Regions from separate parts of the Homo sapiens genome. Here regions 2, 3 and 4 are each linked to region 1. Evidence: promoter capture Hi-C in 16 types of primary human blood cells and fetal thymus (Javierre and others, 2016). All regions are on one chromosome and are shown on one strand. Each heading gives the region's core, a stretch centred on a gene start or on the middle of the fragment in contact. The rest is flanking DNA. Distances are from core to core; before and after follow the strand shown. Region 1 holds the start of SLC10A1 (solute carrier family 10 member 1). Region 2 has its middle 9.0 kb from the start of CCDC177. Region 3 has its middle 58 kb from the start of SNORD169. Region 4 has its middle 7.9 kb from the start of CCDC177.

Region 1 (4,752 bases), core at 1,668-4,167:
GGGTGTCTGCCCATGCCTTTGAGGCTGTCTGGCCATTTTGTTTGTGGAAATGCTGACCTGGAAGATATTTCAGTAAAAGCACAGGTTCCGGAGCCACCCAGACCTGGAGCCAATGTATTGACCTCTCTAAGATTCAGTTTCCTTACCTCTAAATGCTACTTGTTACATGCTGTCCCCCAGGGTGCTGTAGGAGGATCACATATACTTATCCAGGTAAGGTGTTTAGCACTGTGCCTGGCTGTTTCTTATAATCGTTGTCATTATTATAATGCATGTAACAAGTTGTCCCAAATTGGAATGGGATTTGAAGTCTGGCAGCACATGAAGGTAGATGACCAGATTCCCATTCCGACAGTGGGATCTGAGACATGGTTTAATGTGCATGGGAGGGTTGTTTGTTGGGAAGGAGTTTTATGGCAGAAGGTGGCTGTCCCAGCAGAGCTTATCTCTTGTGGGGGTCTAGGTAAAAATGACAGTCATCAGGGGTCTGGACAAGGAGGTTGAGCAGGAGAGCATGAGGGGTCATGTTCTTGAGTCACCAGAGGCTCTGCCTGGGTGGGGCCTAGAGCCACAGCAATGTAGGCATTGTGGCAGAGGCCTCAATAGTGGCCACTGGCGATGGGGCTGGGACATCTGGCCACTCACACTTAAAAGCACAGTTGCCTTCCACGTCCCCTGCTCTGCTTCTTCCACAGAAACACAAAGCCCTCAGAGTACCCCTTCGCAGGCCCCTGACTTCTGCATCCCTCATACACCAAAATTCAGATATACTCTAGGATTCTTGGGACACACAGGCTGCCATGAGCCTTGTCCAGAAGCCAGATCCAAGACCAAGGGCTTGCTTTGTAGCAGAGAGGATGTGGATTAGACAGAGGAAAGCATTTTCTCACAGTGAGGTAGTTGAACATTGAAATACCTTTCCGTGGGTGATGGCACAAGCCAAATGCCCTCTTTGTGCCTCTCTTCCCATTGACTACTAAAGTGAGGGCTGAATCATATGGAAAAAGAGCCCAGAGCTTCTCAGATGGCAGATCCTGTTAAACCCCAACTCTCATTCACTCTCACTTTTTTATTTCCTTTTTTTTTTTTTTTTTGAGAGAGAGACAGGGTCTCACTCTGTTGCCCAGGCTGGAGTGCAGTGGTGTGATCATGACTCACTGTAGCCTTGAACTCGTAGGCTCAAAGATCCTCTCATCTCAGCCTCCCAAGTAGCTGGGACTACAGGCATGTGCCACTATGCCTGGCTAATTAAATATATATGTATATATTTGTAGACACAGGGTTTTGCTATGTTGCCCAGGTTGGTCTTAAACTCCTGGTCTCAAGTGATCTTCCTGCCTTGGCCTCCCAAAGTGCTGGGATTATAGGTGTGAGCCACCGTGCCCAGCCATTCTCACTTTTTTCATTTAAAAAATCTGTCCCAGTGTCATTTTGCATCACTAGGAGGGGCTTCTTGACTGGGTTAGTTTTCCTAGGAAAGTTTGGCTAGGAGTAGGGTGCTGACAGACACAAGCAGATGGACTTTCTGGGTTCTGCTGCTATACCTGGCATTGAATAGCGTCTCCACGGAGGACTAAACCAGGGGGGACTGGCTTGAGACTGAGGTTTCACTGAAAGCAAGAGCTTCTGCTAGTGAGTTTTCTTTAGCTTCAGCACAGGCTGCTGGAGCTGGAGCAGGTCTGAAGTAGCTCCTCTGGCAGATGTTCAAGACTAGAGTCTCCCCAGTTTGGAAGGATGAGCATCAACCAGCCCCTGTGTGCTGCGTCTCCAGGAGCGAGCCCTTGCTGATTTCTGCTTATAATGCTTTGGGCAGGGGGTTAGGGGGTGCTGCTGTCTTCCCCTTATCAGGGTGGCTGAGATGGGGCTGGCCTATCTGGAGTGGGTGCTGGGAAACTCTAGGATCTCCCTGGTTGTGCCTTTGCATGGAAATGTCATTGCATCTGATGGGGAATGAGGGACTTTAAAGAGAAAACATCTTAGATGACCAGGTAATTGGGAGGACCTTTTGGAAATTCTTGCCCGCTTTGCAGGAATTTGAGGTGCTCATTTGGTTCCAAGTCACCTTGATCTCCCTGATGATGTTTGGAACGAATCACACTACCTTTTAAATCTCTGGGCTCAAAGCAGGCAACTTGTCCACTGTTGTAGGTGGATGCAGTTCTCCAGAGGTTCCTTTGGCTTTAATCAGTGCTCCTTTAAGACAATCCTTGAGACACCTCTGGAAGCAAGGAGATCACCACGAGCTTCCTGGACCAGTATGGTCCCTTTGGCTTGGTGCCTAAACCAGACGTACCCCAACTCCTGCCCCCATCCCAGCATAAGCTCTTGGCAATAAATGCCAGACTTCCCCTGCCCTAGCCTCCACCCAGCCTGCATTCACTCCTTTTCCTGGCTTTAGCCCAGCTCTTCCCCTCAATTGTGACATATCTAATGTAGCTCCTGTCCCAGGCTGTTCCCTCCTCACCCCCAGGCCTACCTGAGGTTCATGTCCCCCTTCATGGCCAGACTGAAGACATTGGACAGGTTCCCTCCAGGTGAGCAGCCACAGACCAAGATGGCCAGTGCCTCAATGTTCTTCAGCCGGAAGACCTTGCCCAGCACAAAGGCCGTGAGGGGCATGATGCCATACTGTGCCACCAGGGCGATGGCCAGCCCTTTAGGCTTCCATAAGTGAGCCTTGATCTTGCTGAACTCCATGGTGCAGCCCAGCGAGAGCATGATGAAGAACAACATGAACACCAGGATGACGCTCAGTGCCAGGTCTGTGGGGCGCTTGCCAAAGTTGGGTGGCAGGGTGAAGTTGAATGGGGCAGACGCGTTGTGGGCCTCCATCCTCCTGTGAGGCAGTGGAAGACCACTCCTTGTTCTCCGGCTGACTCCGTTTCTTGTGCAGTTCTTGCTGGATGCCTTCTTTAATCACCTCTCAGGACAGAGAGTTTCTGGACAAAAGCTCTGGGCAAATAGAAGGGTTATGCAACTATCTGAGCTATTTCTCTGGCTGTCGCCCCAAAGAGGAACAGCCCAGAACCTTATCTGCCTGCCCTAGCTCTCCCAAGCTCCCTGACCTCTGCTGGATTCCTGGGTGCTACTTGTACTCCTCCCTTGTCACTTTGCTGCTTCTGGGCTTATTTCTCCCCTTTGCCCTCCACTGAGTGTGCCTCATGGGCATTCATTCAGTTACTGGGGACCTGCCCAGGGCCCACCTGAATCTAGGTCCAGCCCATCTCCTTCCCTGCAGCTCCTTTTCCCAGCTCCGCTCTTGATTCCTTAGTTTCTTGGTTGGGGGAAGGTGCCCTCCCCATGTCCAGTGGGTTATCATTTGTCCCCAGAACCCATGAGAGTGAAAGGAGCTGGGTGTTGCCTTTGGTTCCTAGATACAGGTAGCATAGTCCAAGGGGGTGTGGGACAGGCAATGTCACTGGCCTCCAGGAGGGGATGTGTCCATGACCCTTTTCCTGGGAGCTGAGAGGATGCCAGTATCCTCCCTGCCTGTTCTGGGGAAATGTTTGTTTTATCCCCAAACTGGGACTGTATGAGTCCCAGGGAGGAATACTGGTGGTGGCTGCTCCACACTACCTGGAATGCTTACCATCAGAGGGAATAACCAGCTGGGATGGTGGGTGGGCTCTCAGGAAGCTTGGAGGCTCTTTCCCCGAAAAGCAACCTGAGAGAACCCTGGCTGTGGAGATTGCTTTGTGCCCGAGGAGGCCCATTGCTTGCAAAACTTGCTGAGAAGGAAGCAGGAATGCAGTCTTTTCTTCCTGACTTCCTGATTGCTTTACTTTTGCACTGGGCCTGTGTGTTTCAGGCTGGGAGCCAGGCTTGGGGCGTGGAGCAGAAGCAGAGAGAGGTGGGCATGCCAGGGGCGGGGCCACCTAGTGTGTGAGGTTATCCTAGGCCTTGCTCTTTCCATCTATCCCCACTGCAGAGGTGGGACAAGGGAGGAGGGGTCTCCTTCAGAAACACAATTGCTTCTTGGCTTGGTTGGAACCTAGGAGGCCTGGGTGGGGTCTGAAACAGGTGATTAGGCTTTGTATGTAGGACTCCAGAGGGCAGAATAGGGACCAGGGTGTGAACCACTGTTGGGTGGAGGTGGGGACAGATTTTGGCTTGGTGCAAGGAACCACCTGAAAATGAGAGCTCTCCAAGAATGGCCTTGAGGCCTCTGGAATCCTGCTTGGATAAGGGTTGGATGGCAGGATCCATACATATTGCATCATATCCATGAAAAGGCTGCTCCCTGGGCTTGCGCGGTGGGCAGCCTGCGGGGCCGTATACTGTGGCCCTGGGTGACATGAACTTGAAGCCTCTTTTCCTTTGAGAGTCTCTGCTAATGATTTCCTGGTGCTTGAGTTGGGCTGGTATCAAAGGGAGGGCAGGCAGAGGACTGGGCACTGGATGTGATGCCTGGACTGAGCGTTCCCACAGGGTAGGGTTGAGTCTCAGAGGAGGCTGCTTCCTCTCCCTGGGGCTAATCAGAAGGGAACAGAGTTGCTAGGGGAGAATTATTGATCACTAACTGAGTACCAGGCACCATGGGAGGCAAAAAAAATAAAAATAAATAAATAAAAAAAACTATATAATTCATGTTCCTGTTCTCAGGGACCTGATGGTCTGTACAAGACCACAGATGGCCAGATGGTACACAATGCAATATGGAAGCACGTGAGGGTGGAGGCCATGCAGGGCTGCCAGGTACACCTGTTCAGGTTGGGCACTACACAATGCTAGGGACGCCACTCTACAGATGTC
Region 2 (4,752 bases), core at 1,673-4,172, 230 kb before region 1:
TGATGATGGAAACATTGATATCTGTGCTAGCCACCAGCCATATGTGGCTGCTGAGTGCTTGCCATGTGGCTAGTGTGACTGAGGAGCTAAATTTTTAGTTTTACTTAAATTTAATTAACTTACTTTTTTTTCATTTTCTGTTGCTATCACAAAATTTAACTAATTTAAATTCAAATAGGCATATGTGACTAGAGGCTATTGAATTGGAAAGCATAGCTCTAGAGCAGTGGTTCTCAACCTTAAGTTTACATCAGAATCACCTGGAGAGCTTGTGAAAACACAGATTGAGGTTCCCACCCCCAGAATATCTGATGCTGATCCTGCTGGCCCAAAGACCACCCTTTGAATACCTCTGCTCTAGAATATGCATCATCCCTGATGTGGTAAGCTTCAGGGTCAGCACAAGAGTCCCTCGTCTTGTCTCTGGGCAGTGAGCCTCAGTCCATCCTTAGTGCCAGCAGGACCCACCTGGTGGCACTAAGCTCCAGTGAAATCTAAGCTTTCTCCCTGCAGGCCTTACACATAGATATTGCTGGCAGTGATTCAAATGGCTGCCATTGGGATGCTCCAGGAGGTCCCCTTGGTTATAAAATATCATTCCGATTACCAAGAAGCAACAGAACATACTGGTTAAAAGCATGTGCTGTACAGCCAGACTAAGGGAATCCAAGCTGACTTTGCTCAACACTGGCTGTGTGACTATGGGCATATAATTGCTTAAAGTTTATGCCTCAATTTTATCATCTGTAAAATGGAAACAATAACAGTACCTACCGCACAGAGAATCTTGTGAGAATCAAGTGCTTAAAATAGTAGCCTGCACAGTGTAAGTGCTTAGTACACACTGGCTATCATTACCCCTGCAATCCCAGCATTAGCAAATTGTTCCTTTCTGCTATGCATTTGCTCACCCTGCAGGTTCTCTGGAAATAAGCAGATGTTCCTAGGAAGCACACTCTGCCTACTGTACAATTTTGCTGAGGATTCAGGAGTACTCTGAGGTCCACTAGGGCATCCCTCTAGGTTATCCAAGGATGGAAGAAAGCTGATGAGGTAGGAGAGTGCCTAGAAGCTTGCCATACTCTTCATCCTCACTTCCCCATGCACAGTGAGAGCCAGGATGGGCCAGCCTACCTGTTTAGCACCTCTGTGTATTGATGTATGTCCAAAGAGGAGAACAGACATTTACAAACCCAGGCCTGAAGCTAGGCTCCATGCAGTTGTCAACAGGGCCAGAGGACCAGGAAGGGAGAGTGGGGACATTTGGTGAGGCTTCTCAAGGAAAGTCATTAGTTGAGGATGAAGTGATGCTAAGGCATATCCACCTCTATCCTTCCTGCTCCAACACTACCCCTACAGTGAGCCCATCAGCACTCTCCCAGGTTAGGCTTGTCCCAGACCCTCTTCCTTATTCCTGTGTGGCCATAGCAGAAGATGGCTGTATAGTCCAGAATTCCTGCCAAGTACCACCACACCCTGTAGTACCAGAGTCCCCCTGAACAGTGGTTCTCCCACAACCTCTCCTACTTGGTCCTGCTGAAGATGCTATCATAGAATTTGGGCATCACCAGGACAGAAGCACACCCTCTTTTGCCCTAGAAAGATACACAAATTTTAAAGCATTCTGTCATTTTACCCATCATTTAAGAAGTCTTAAAATAAAATTTCCAAAATTATTATCAGATGTCAATTTTATTGCCAAACAAGGTAAATGGGTAAACAAGTAAATCCCTACCTCCCCCAGCCCCCACAACCCCAGGACTACTGCTTATTACCAGGGGAACCATTTTTCCAGAGCCCCTCATTTGGAATGGTTGGAAGATTGCCACGCAACAAGGACTACCCCCAAAAGGGCTACCATTCAAGTCTGGTGTCCACCAGGACCACCTGGCTTAAGCTCGATCTACCCCATTCCTTCCTTTACCATCTTCTCTAATTTAGGATAACAGTATCCACAAATTAAGTGCTACTGCTTTCCAAGAACTAAATGATTTAACAGCTCCCTACCAGATAGGATCTATTGTCTCCATTTCACAGAAGACAAGAGGAACAAGTTGAGAATAGCTTGAATAAGTCAAGACACTTGCTCCTTTGCCAAACTCTTTGCCTTAAGTTGTGATAACCACAGGGAATAGATTTTCAGAATTTGATGGACGTCAGTCATTTTGTTATACTATGTTCCCGAATGCTGGCATTTTGGTATCTAAATTCTATCTCCCAGTAAATCTCTGACACCCAGTGAGAGAATGCACTGGGAAGGAGAAGTGTAGTGGCAGCATGAAAACCCTTCGTCAACATGAGGCTCGATGATGGATTTGGGAGATGCAGACACCATGCTCACAAGCCACAGCCTAAAGCAGCCTTGGGGCTGGAGGCAGGTGGGAGCAATGGAACCTTACAAGGGGCAGCTCAGCCTTCCCAGAACTTAGCTCTCCTTGGAAGAATAAGATGGCTATAGTTCCTCCCTTTGCAAGAACACTGATGCTGGAAGCAGTAAGGGTGGGCGTGCGCATGTGTATGTGCATGCACGCTTGCACATGTGTGCTCAAACACAGAAGATATGGATCATTCACAAGAAAGTCCTGTGAACTGTGTAAGTGTCTGACACAAAAATATGCTATCAGTACTGTACTAATGGAGGGCTGGGTGCCATGGCTCATAGTCCCAGCACTATGGGAGGCTGTGGTGGGTGGATAACTTGAGGCCAGGAGTTTGAGCCCAGCCTGGCCAACATGGTGAAACCCCATCTCTACTAAAAATACAAATTTAGCCAGGTGTGGTGGCATGCACCTGTAATCCCAGCTACTTGAGAGGCTGAGGCATGAGAATTGCTTGAATCCAGGAGGCGGAAGTTGCAATGAGCCGAGATGGTGCCGCTGCACTTCAGCCTGGGCGACAGAGCAAGACTGTCTCAAAACCAAACCAAAACAAACAAACAAAAAATTGTACTAGTGGAGAGGAAGAAAGGCAAGAACACTTCAAAATGACAGCTAATTTAAAAATCACTTTGGACTAGGTTTTTATGCTCATTTGAGACATGACTGTATTTGATGAATTGGGAAGTAATAACACTGCAAATGATCACATTATCAGCGTTTCTCTGAAAGAAACCATCCCACATTCCATATCCTAACATCTGCTACAGTAAAAAGATAGACAGATAGAGGAAGAGAGACAGAGACAGAGGGAGACAGAGCGAGAGAGATGAATCACCTTCAAGGGTATTGCCTGTCATGACTTTAAGAGAGGCAGCATTGAAAACGGCAAGAACTCTACCCTCTGTCCCAGCCCTGACCTATTGGAAACCAAAGCAGCACCAGGGATAGTAGTGAAGGGCTGGGGGCTTGTTGGGAAGATCCATGGGGTTGGGAGGAGATGCATGTAGAGAGAGATGCCAGGGAGCTCTGTGTAACAGAGCACATATGAACTGATGAACTGCTCTTGTCTAAAGACACACATAACCAAAGCATATGATGAGGTGTAATATTCAGGTGCTATGCCAGACACCTGAGGCCTCAGCAACATTTCCAGAACTGAGAGTTTTCTGCTTCTGGGTCCCTGAAAGCCCCTTTGCAGGCTGTGTGAAGAAATACCAAGTTTCCTCATGTTCCTCTGCCAAATGTTTCACTGGATGAAGATGTGGTCATACAGCAGAGAAAAGGCAAGCCTACATAGCAATCTTTGGGCTCAATTACCTGGAAGGCTTAAGAAGTGAGATATTCTGGTTTACTAAATCTCTTTATGGATTCAGTATTAACCAGAAATTTCTTTTTGTTGAGACTTTTAAACTGGAAATGGTCCTGCAATTTTGACTTTCTTGTCTCAGTAAGAACAGTCAGATGAGGAGCTGGCACCAAATGACGTTTGGTGAATTAGGACTCTGCACAGCCTGAGGGTCGGTTCTCTAGGTCGAAGATCATTATTTATGCTGCCTCTCTTAAAGGCATGACAGGTAATGCCCTTGAAGGTGATTCATCTCTCTCTCTCAGTTTATCTCTTTGTTTACTGAAATTTAAAGCTGATTAAGGGCATAGCATGAATTTGACCTGATTAATCAAGGCTTCTCCAAGAAAGAGAGCAACAGTGACTAAATGATGATTGAATGGTGGATGACTTGTCCTTAGGAGGCTGACAGTGTTTGAAGTTAGTGCCTTGAGGGACCATCAGGTCTGCCTGCAGATGGATACTCAGGTGAGAAGGTTGTTAAGCCCCCAACATGGAAACAAAGATGTCGTCTGCTCATGACATTGTACATACGTGATCTCCAGGGTCAATGATTGGAGAGGCTGTTTCTCCAGCACCAAGGGCAGTGCCTGACACATAGCAGCGGCTCACTGAAAATGTGTTGAATGAATGGAGTCCTGCCTAGCTGGTCTATACACATTTCCTCTGGTCACCATTCATTTGTCCATCCATCCCTCTGTCCTTCTCGCCATCCAGTATCTACGTGCTTACCATATGTGAGATGTAAAACCATTGGCTGTAGGGGATTCTATGCTAAACAAGATACAGCCCTTTATTTAGAGTCACCTCTATTTCAATGGACTTTGTAAAGGTGAAGAAATGATAAGTGATGGATTTTACAGAATAGTCTGAACACAGACTGCATTCTCATATATCTTCACTATCCTACAGGGTCTTTGCCTTTAGCAAATCCCGGTTACTACCCTCATTGGAGAGTCACAGTCTGCATGCTTCCAAAAAGAATCTTCCACCATCCTGTCTAGATAGGGTTGTAGGCATTGGGTCACT
Region 3 (4,752 bases), core at 1,328-3,827, 240 kb after region 1:
AAGCCCTGGATCACCAGGCTGTTCATCTGGCTATTTACTCCCAAGTTCCTGAAAGACCTGCAAGGCCACAGTTGTGCCCACCAAGGAGGCTGAAGACCTTCCCAGGCACCATGACCTTCTGGTCTGTGGTGTTAGGCCTTTTTCTACTACACAGGTGGAAATAGGTGAAGCTTGATCTTTTCATGCAGCACTGCCGAATCAAGCTCTCAACCCTAGGGCCTGGATCAACATTCCCCTTTGTGTGCCTTTCATGAGTTGATAAGGAAAAGGGCCATGACCTTGGTTCCATGCCTGCCTACTCCTGCAAGTGTCTGTGCTATGTATGGGGCACAAGTCTCTCTTGTCATTTCTCGTCAAGTCTTGGTGGGGCACTCTGGCCAATTCCTTCTATTCCTCTACGCCACCCCCAACCAACACCTCACCCAAGCAGCCCCTGCTCCCTCTCCTGCTCTGCACTGCCCCTTTTTCCTCTGTCAGGATGCACTCTGTGAAAGCTGTCTTGCCTGTATCCTCCTAGCCAGAGCGCTAACTCTAGCTACTGGTCGGTGGTCCTGTATGTAGTACCCCAGACCAGGCCTGTCTACAAGTCCAGGGCAACCCTGAGAATTCACACACTTGATGGTCACATGCACTGCATACTTGGATGTGGTCTCTCCACACAGTGATGGACACGTTGCTCAACTGCTCATAAGACTCAGTCAGGAGAGACCAGGATAAGCTTCAGTAAGTACACCCTTCCCAACCTCTCTGGCTCAAAACAGAAAGGTGTTTTTCTCACTGCTGCGACACAGCAGTGAGATAACAAGAGTAATGTACTCAGCACAGTGCCTGGTACAAAACTGGAGCTCAGTATCTGTCAGTCATCCTCCTCTTCCTCCTTATTTGTATCATCAGTGAGCGTTGGCACTGGGAGGAGCCTGAAAAATCACCTATTCTAATGGTTATACGTGAAAAATCTAAAATCTCAATAGATAGGCGGAGTGGCCATCTCCAGGTCAAATACTTTTAGCTTGTGACACAGCCAGAATTAGAATTCACTTCTGTCAACTCCTAATTTAGCATTCTTAATAGCAATTACTTTGCTATACATTTAAAGAGGCATACAGCATATATAGATGGAAAATTCCATTAAATGATGGAAAGAAGTGTGTCTACTGAGATGTTGAGTAGTTCACTGTATCAGATTCTAAAAAATGAGTTGTTTAGGGAAAGGTATAGTGAAATATACCTGACAAGGCAGTGAAATGAGGTAGAGATAGAGTGATGGGATGCACATGCCATTGCAAAAAGCATTATGATGCGGGCTGTATGATGGAGTTGTAACTTCTGGAGGAAAGCTAAAAATGGAGGAACAGATTAATATCAGCAGCAAAATCACATGGTCTGGCAGGAAAGTCAGGGCCAGTGGACAGAGAACCTACTACAGGAGTCTTCAGCCTGGTTTTGCTATGAACTAGCTGTGTGACCTTGAGCCATTGGCTTCACCTCTCTGGGCCTCCTTGGTGTTTTTGCCCAGGAGTTCTCACTGTATGTCAGACATTTTGCTAAGCCTGTTATCTCATGAAATAATTGCAACAACTCTATATGGTGTGCAGAAATCTCCTGCCTACCCCATCTGGAGCCATTCTTCCCCCTTCTTCACCTGCTGCGTGCTCTGCCTGGGGGACTAACTTTTATGCATGGCATCAATGGAGTTCTTGTGCTCTCTGGATGACCAGGAGTCCAGTGGGAGATGGGAGAGTGGGAGGGGAGGGAGGACAGGTGTTATTCTCTGTAAGGTTGCCTTGGGCTGGCTTTGTTTTTTGACTGAAAGGTATCACTCCTCTCTAAGAGGCCTATCTACCTGATTCTCTCTCCTTCTCAGTTCCTGAAACCTCTCCTCTCCTTCCACTTGGGCCTAGGAGGAAGCAAACTCATAAAGTGGAACTCTGGGTTTGGGCTGGTCATGAGCAGCTCAAGGACAACTTCCTTGATGAGGGCAAATGGGACCCAGGTAGTTCATGGTAAAGGGTGGCATCATCAATACTCAAATTATCACTGAATGGGGTAGAGAATAAAGTGGAGGGCAAGATGCTGGGGGATCAAGTGGTTCTAATGCTTTGTTCCTAGAGCAATTGCAGTATTTTCAAAAATTATGACATCACCTGATTATTTGCATGACTCTTGAGAACATACATGGGGGAAAAGACAAATTAAAAGCTATTAACATGCACAGGGAGAACTGGAAGTCCTCCCAGGAAACTTTAAAGGAGTCCCTCCTCTCCTATAGCTGCAGGGACCACAGGGATATGGACCAAGCCCAAGTTGCAGCATTAATTAAATGCTGGACCCCATTAGGACTCTTCAGGACATGAGTAGGGAAGGAGTAACACCAAATAACATATGACTTAACCTACCCATGTAGAACTGGGTACCTTTCCCAATAAATTATAAAATTGAACTTGCTCAGAAATATTTATTATAAAATGGAAGTGGTATGTATATAGGGAAAACAGCCCATTCATGTCAAGAAAGCACCAGTAACCTGCACAAACAGGCAGTTTTGACTCCTGTGGTAACTCCAGGTAACAGCTTTGCTGCCTTTCCCTCAACCACACATTGACTTCATGGGGAATTCCCTGTGACCAGTGAATAAATGAGAAAAAAGCATGAACCTAATTCTGCACAGCATGCCAGCACCAGCCAGAAGTGGACAGCGCCATCTATAGCCCTACTCACAGGAGACCCTCAAAGACTGTGGTGGATGGAAATTTTCCCAGTGGACAGAACTTCAGGCAGTACATTGAACTGTCCACTTGGGCCTGAATCATGGATCTACACCAACTCATGCAGTGGATGATGAGTGACTGGCTCATTGAGGACTTGAAGCTAATTGGTGGCAAGAAAAATTAGGAATTTAGGAATTCCATGTATGGAATGGGCCCCATAGTGTGAAGATATAGTGCCCCATACAAATGCCTATCAGAGAGCAACCATGGTGGTAGATGTTCTCAATATGACTCATGCTGTCGTTAATATTAGTTGGCCCCTCTCCCTAGCCACCCTGATGCTGGCTCAGTGGATCCATGAACAAAATGGCATGCCAACAGGGATGGAGGCTGTACTTGGACTCAACAGCCTGGCTGTCCTCTCACCAAGGCCCATTTGGCTACTGCCACTGATGAGTGTATGACCTGCTCAAAGCAGAAGCAACGGATGAGCCATTGACATGGTAATATCTCCCAGGAAGGCCAGCAGGTTATACAGTGTCAGATTGATTTCCTTGGACAATTGCCATTATAGAAAATGTAGCAGTCAGTCTCTTCACAGAGGATAGACTCATATTCTGGGTATGAATTTGCCTTTCTTGCCCATAGTGTTTCTGCTAGCATGTCCATTTATGGACTTTGAATGTTTTATCCATTGCAGTGATATCTTTCACAACATTGTCTTACCAGGGTCACTGGTCTTACCACTTTTCCTATTACCCAAAAGTGGAATGACCTGATTCAGGCTCAATTACAGCATCACGTAGAAGATAATACCTTGTGATATTAAGATGCTATCATACTGAATGCAGTATATGCTGTAATTGGGGGCCAATATCTAGTGCAATCTATCCATAGATGGGATCATAGTTCTGGAGACTAAGGGGTAGAGATGGGTGATGCCTCTCATTATTATGCCTAATAACCTACATGAAGAATCTTACTTTCTGTTTCTATAGCTTTGGTCTCAGCAGGTTTGGAAGTCCCAGTGACAATGGAGAAATGCTTGCACCAAGGAAGAGTTCTGGTTCTGATGAATTAGAAGTAGATACTGCCTCCTAGTCATTTTGGGTTCATTGAACTGGTGAGACGAATGTCCTAATTACCTGGGGGAAATAGGGTTGCTGTTGCATAATGAGAATATGAAGGACTGGGTTTGCAATGTAGGAATTCATCTGATGTACCTTTTCATACTCCCTTGCCCAAAAGTACTGGTCAACGGAAAACTGAGCAACATGCCAATAATTCAAATCTTGTGGGAATGAAAGTTTGGGTTATCCTACCAAGGAAAGAACCTCATGTAACTGAGATGCTAGCTAAGAGTAACAGGATATGGAATGGCTGGAAAATATGGCAGCACAACAGAGTAGAATTTGCATGTAGACATTCCATCTCTTACTAGCTCTGTAAGACTCAATATTTTAGGGTGACAAACTGTCCCAATTTTCCAGGACTGAGAGATTTCCTGGGACACAGGACTTTCAGTGCTAAAACCAGGAAAGTCCTGGGCAAACCAGACAAGTTATTCTACTTATGATTTGTGCTTTCTTCTTCACCACCCTGACAGTAAATAATAACTATCTTACCTACCTAGCAGGTGCATGTGAAGATAATGGTCACTCTAGATATTAAGCCCAGCTCTGCCACTTACTTGTGGAATGGCCTTGGACAGATGACATAACTTCTCACAAAGCTTCACTCCCTTCTTCAGGCCCACCATTATCTGACTTACTTATTAGCATTAATGAACTCCTTTGGCCTGCCGCCTCTTCTATGTCACCCTTTCTTTGACACCAAACATGTCTGTCTCTCTTCTCCACTGTGTCTAAAGGCTCACATGACTTGGAGGTCCTGGTGTCCCTTGACCATCTCTCCAAATCGTAATACTCAAGTTTAACATTTCTAGGGTGTATGGAAGGTGCTAAACCCTATGGCAATTGACTTGAGAATGGTTTCTTTAATCGTTGCAACACTGTATTTTGGGTTTAGGGACACTGAAGCTCAG
Region 4 (4,752 bases), core at 837-3,336, 210 kb before region 1:
GCTGTGTGGGAACGTCTGTGGTACTCTGCTCCAGTTGCATCTCCATAACAGCCCCTTGGTGACCTTGTAGCCCCGGCCCAGGCCTGGTGACCACCTTCCAGTGCCTTCCTGAGGTGGACACCAGGTGTTCCAGGCCTCATACCCGTAGTGGCACTCTGGCTCCCTCCCACCAGCCTCAGCTTACCTATAATTTCCTGCTTGCTCAACAGCTGTGGAGTGGCTCTGCCCTGGGCAGACTTCTGTGTCACCCAATGGGCTGTAACAATACCTCCTCTAAGGAGGTCTGAACTCCAATCTTTTTTTTTTTTTTTTGTAGAGACAAGGTCTTGAACTCCTGGCCTCTGGTGATCCTCCTGCCTCAGCCTCCCAAAATGCTGGGATAACTGGCATGAGCCACTGCACCCAGCTCCCCAGTCTTGAGGAGGGAACTCTCCTTCCAAGTTGTCCTTCCTTGAATACTCTCCTTCAGCCTTGGGGAACCGTTAGCTTCATACCTCTTTGTGTTAGGCTTCTCTGTTTAAATTGCTATGTGGTTTCTGTATCTTGATTGGACCCAGAACTATATACAGCTTAATGTGTAACCATTCCCAATTTCTGAGACTAAAGCCTTAAGAAGAAATTTAGGACACAAACCAGCAGGTAAAAGGTAATAGTTGTTAAAAGTAAAGTGTTTTATTTCATACTTTAATGAAGTAATATATGTTCATCAAAAGAGGAAATGAAAAAGTACAGGAAAAGGAAGGAAAAAAAATCACGTGTAGAAAAATCATTGCTGAAAGACCACCACTGTTACATTTTGGTGTGTAGGTGGCAGGGACTTGCAAGCTGCAGGACAGGTTCTTGTCTGTTTCTGCTCTCAATTGCTTAGGGTCCAGTAAGTGGTAGCCCTCCTGCTGGATGCATCGAGAGGAAATGAGATCTAAGTAGTGCTACTTTGCCCACTCTGTGTACCATAAAACTACCTAAAGTACCCTGAGCCATTAAGCTGCTTTGGTGAATCTTCAGAGTTAGGCTTCTTAAGCAGGTGATGCTCATGTTTAAGAACTGTCTCGTGGGACAGGAGAGGCCCAGCCTGCCCTTAACTGTGAAGCTGCGTCACTGCGGAGATGTAGAGGGAGCCTTATGATTAATCCAATGGGCTTTTCTCTCACTCTGTGAAGGGCTGCACCTCATTCCATCCACCAGCCTTTTGTATGATATTGCAGAAGCGTCCTCCTTCCTGAGTATGACCAGGAACCAGGGGTGCTGCCCCATGGGCATCTCCTCTGTGAAATGCTTGTGCTTGAAAGAACAGGCTGGTGCTCAGGAGCCAGGCTTGTTTCCAGTCTCTGCCTCTCCTGCTGGGCCATCTGCCTCTGGCATAAGCCACTTCTCTGCTCAGTCCCTTTAGGCCCCTTCCATTTCAGAGAGGCTACACTGGCATCACAGCCACTGTTCCCACTGGCCTCTCCCCCGTGCCTCTGCCTGCCAACATGCACGCACACACACACACACACACACACACACACACACACACACGCACACACACGCACTGATGTATTTCTTTCTTTTTACATTTTAACTTAATTTTAATTTAATTTTATTTTTTGAGACAGAGTCTTGCTCTATTGCCCAGGCTGGAGTGCAGTGGCACGATCATGGCTCACTATGTCCTTAACCCCCACGGCTCAAGTGATCCTCCCACCTCAGTCTCCCAATAGCTGGGACTAAAGGCATGCACCACCATGCCCACCAATTTTTTAATTTTTTGTAGAGATGAGGTCTCACTATGTTGTCCAGGCTGGTCTCAAACTCTCGGGCTCAAGCAATCCTCCCCTCTTGGCCTCCCAAAGTGTTGGGATTATAGGCATGAGCATTGTGCCTAGCCCCCCCTCCTTTTTCTTCTTAATGGACAATTCTAATTTAGAACATTATGCACCATTGCCTTCCATGATGCCTCAGACCAGTCATCCCAATATATATATTTAGACATTCAGAGATGAGTCATATTCTACTTCTGGGAATATGTGTGATCACTGGCAGAATATGTGTCTCTTGGGGATCAGGAATTTACCTTTGTATGTGTCTCTTGGGGATCAGGAATTTACCATCAGGCTCCTTTTAAATTTAATTTTTACTTTTATTTTGAGATGAGTTCTTGCTATGTTGCCCAGGCTGGCCTCAAACTCCTGGAATCAAGCAATCCTCCCACCTTAGCCTCCCAAGCAGCTGGGATAACAGGAATGAACCACCATGCCCAGCCATCAGGCTCCTTTTTACCCATCCAAATGTGTCAATCAACCACACAACAACAACAAGAAATGCATCAAAAAGTTATTGTTAAGATGCACCAAGCTCAGCTAGGATATCTGCAAATACTGAGAAGGGGAAGACAAGGCCCCTTACCCTGAGTGCCAGTTGGAGCAATAAGACCCAAACACTCAAGAAGTTAAATAATAAGAGTTAAATCCATTATTTTATCTGATAATCAACATAAGAGAGTGGTCACAGGCAGAATGTGATGAATGCATTACTAAGGAGCTAGACAGCGCTAGGTGGGTCCCTCAGCCTTGCTGAGTCTGATTTCCTTTCTTGATTGTATTAGTTTGCTAGGGCTGCTGTAACAAAATGCCCCAGACTAGGTGACTGAAGCAACGAAAATGTATTTTCTCACAGTTCTGGAGGCGAGAAGTCCAAGATGATGATGTCAGCAGCTTGGTTTCTTCTGGGGCCTCTCTCCGTGGCTTGCAGATGGCCACCTTCTCACTATGTCTTCACATTTGTCCCTCTGTTTCCTGTGTCCTAATTTCTTCTTATAAGGATAGTAGTCACATTGGATTAGGGCCCACCCTGATGACTGTACTTTAACTTAGTTACTTTTTATTTTTTAGAGATGGTATTGCTATGTTGATCAGGCTGGTCTCCAACTCCTAGCTGCAAGCCATCCTCCCTTGGCCTCCCAAAGTGCTGGGATTAGAGGCATAAGCCACCACATCCAGCCTTAATTACTTCTTTAAAGGGATGACATGGTTTGGATCTGTGTCCCTGCCCAAATATCATGTCAATTGTAATCCCCAGTGTTGGAGGTGAGGCCTAGTGGGAGGTGATTGGATCATGGGGATGGTCTTTCATGAATGTTTAGCATCATCCTCTTGGTGCTGTTTCTCGTGATAGTGAGTAAATGAGTGATCATGAGAGCTGGTTGTTTAAAAGTGTGTAGTACCTCCCTGCTCCCTCTCTTCTGCCTGCTCCAGCCATGTAAGACGTGCCTACTTCCCCTTTGCCTTCCACCATGATTGTAAGTTTCCTGAGGCCTCCCCAGAAGCCAAGGAGATGCCAGCATCATGCTTCCTGTACAGCCTGTGGAACCATAAATACAAAAAATTAGCTGGGCATAGTGGCAGGTGCCTGTAATCCCAGCTACTCAGGAGGCTGAGGCAGGAAAATTGCTTGAACCCGGGAGGCGGAGGTTGCGGTGAGCCAAGATCGTGCCACTGTACTCCAGCCCGAGTGACAGAGTGAGACTTCGTCTCAAAAAATAAATAAATAAATAAAAATAAATAAATAATCACACATGTGCTGGGAAGCAGAGGGACTGCTGGGAGACCCTCTAATCAGGCAAGAGATGGGCATGGCCTGAACTAAGGCAGCAGCAGTGAGGATAGAGAGCATAGGAAAAAAATGTGAATTTATGAGAGAGAATCAACAAAATTGGTGAGTGATTAGGTGTGGTATCAAAACTCCTGGGTGAGACAGGCACAGTGGCTCATGCCTGTAATCCCAGCACTTTGGGAGGCTGAGGTGGGCGGATCACTTGAGGTCAGGAGTTTGAGAGCAGCCTGGCCAACATGGTGAAACCCTCTCTACTAAAAATATAAAAAATTAGCCGGGTGTGGTGGCGGGTGCCTGTAACCCCACCTACTTGGGAGGCTGAGGCAGGAGAATTGCTTGAACCCTGGAGGTGGAGGTTGTAGTGAGCCAAGATGGTGCCACTGCACTCCAGCCTAGATGACAGAGTGAGACTCTGTCTCAAACATAAGACAAAGACAAAAACAAAAACAAACCTGCCTGGATGTCTGGCTTGGTCAACTGGATAGGTGTGGGGAGGACAGGTTGTGCTGTTCGCTGAGGTGTGAAGTGGAGGAGGAAGAGAAGCAAAGATGATGAGATCCACTTTCAACCTGTTGAATGGCCATATCTATCAGGTGTCTAACCTAATGGTTAATATCATGAGTTTCAGAGTCCACAGACCTGAAGTCAAATCCCAGCTTGTCAGGTCCTGGCTGTGTGATCCTGGGAGTTACTCAAACTTTCTGAACTGACATTTGTTCCCCATAAAATGGGTATAGTAATATCTCCCTTATAAGGTTGTTGCTGAGAATTAAAGGAGATTAAATATGTTCAGCACACAGCACAGTGTACCCATGCATCTGGAACGTAGTATTACGCAGTAAGTGGAAAGTCATTATTATTATCACTACATTTAGATGAAATGATGAGCAAATCCAAGCTTTCTTTTGGTTGCTTTCCTGTGTGTTTATAGATCATGTCTCTAACTTGGATTTCAGTTCCTCTGCTCCATTTGGAAACAGTGCCTTCTACTTTTTTTTTTTTTTGTCATTTGTTCCTGGAGATCGGAGTTTTTCCCTGATGCTCAGCTCTTTGATAGGGTTGACTAGAAGGCAGGATTATTTTGTTTACTGGAGGCAAATTTTGAGAAGGGAACTCAATGCTCACTCCACACTCTTACCACCAGGTGGCGTCCCTCCTCTG

What was found. Contacts are between HindIII fragments. The CHiCAGO score rates a contact against its expected background, and 5 or more counts as called.
Region 2: a contact is called between a fragment that was not itself captured here and the fragment with the promoter of SLC10A1 in region 1, in 1 of 17 cell types (neutrophils). The highest score is 6.0, in neutrophils.
Region 3: a fragment that was not itself captured here is called in contact with the fragment with the promoter of SLC10A1 in region 1 in 1 of 17 cell types (endothelial precursors); the score reaches 6.2 in endothelial precursors.
Region 4: a contact is called between a fragment that was not itself captured here and the fragment with the promoter of SLC10A1 in region 1, in 4 of 17 cell types (M2 macrophages, neutrophils, erythroblasts and 1 more). The highest score is 6.3, in M2 macrophages.

What each region holds. Positions count from the first base shown.
Region 1 is chr14:69,794,324-69,799,075 of GRCh38, forward strand. SLC10A1 (solute carrier family 10 member 1) reads right to left here and starts at 2,918. Exons shown (of 5, transcript NM_003049.4): 1 at 2,477-2,918. The coding sequence starts at 2,832. The HindIII fragment of the contact is 9,870 bases long and covers 1-3,634 here.
Region 2 is chr14:69,563,452-69,568,203 of GRCh38, forward strand. No RefSeq gene overlaps it. Among named protein-coding and RNA genes, the nearest start is that of CCDC177, 9.0 kb to the right of the region's middle. The HindIII fragment of the contact is 3,704 bases long and covers 1,071-4,752 here.
Region 3 is chr14:70,034,186-70,038,937 of GRCh38, forward strand. No RefSeq gene overlaps it. Among named protein-coding and RNA genes, the nearest start is that of SNORD169, 58 kb to the left of the region's middle. The HindIII fragment of the contact is 3,722 bases long and covers 717-4,438 here.
Region 4 is chr14:69,580,438-69,585,189 of GRCh38, forward strand. No RefSeq gene overlaps it. Among named protein-coding and RNA genes, the nearest start is that of CCDC177, 7.9 kb to the left of the region's middle. The HindIII fragment of the contact is 4,802 bases long and covers 1-4,487 here.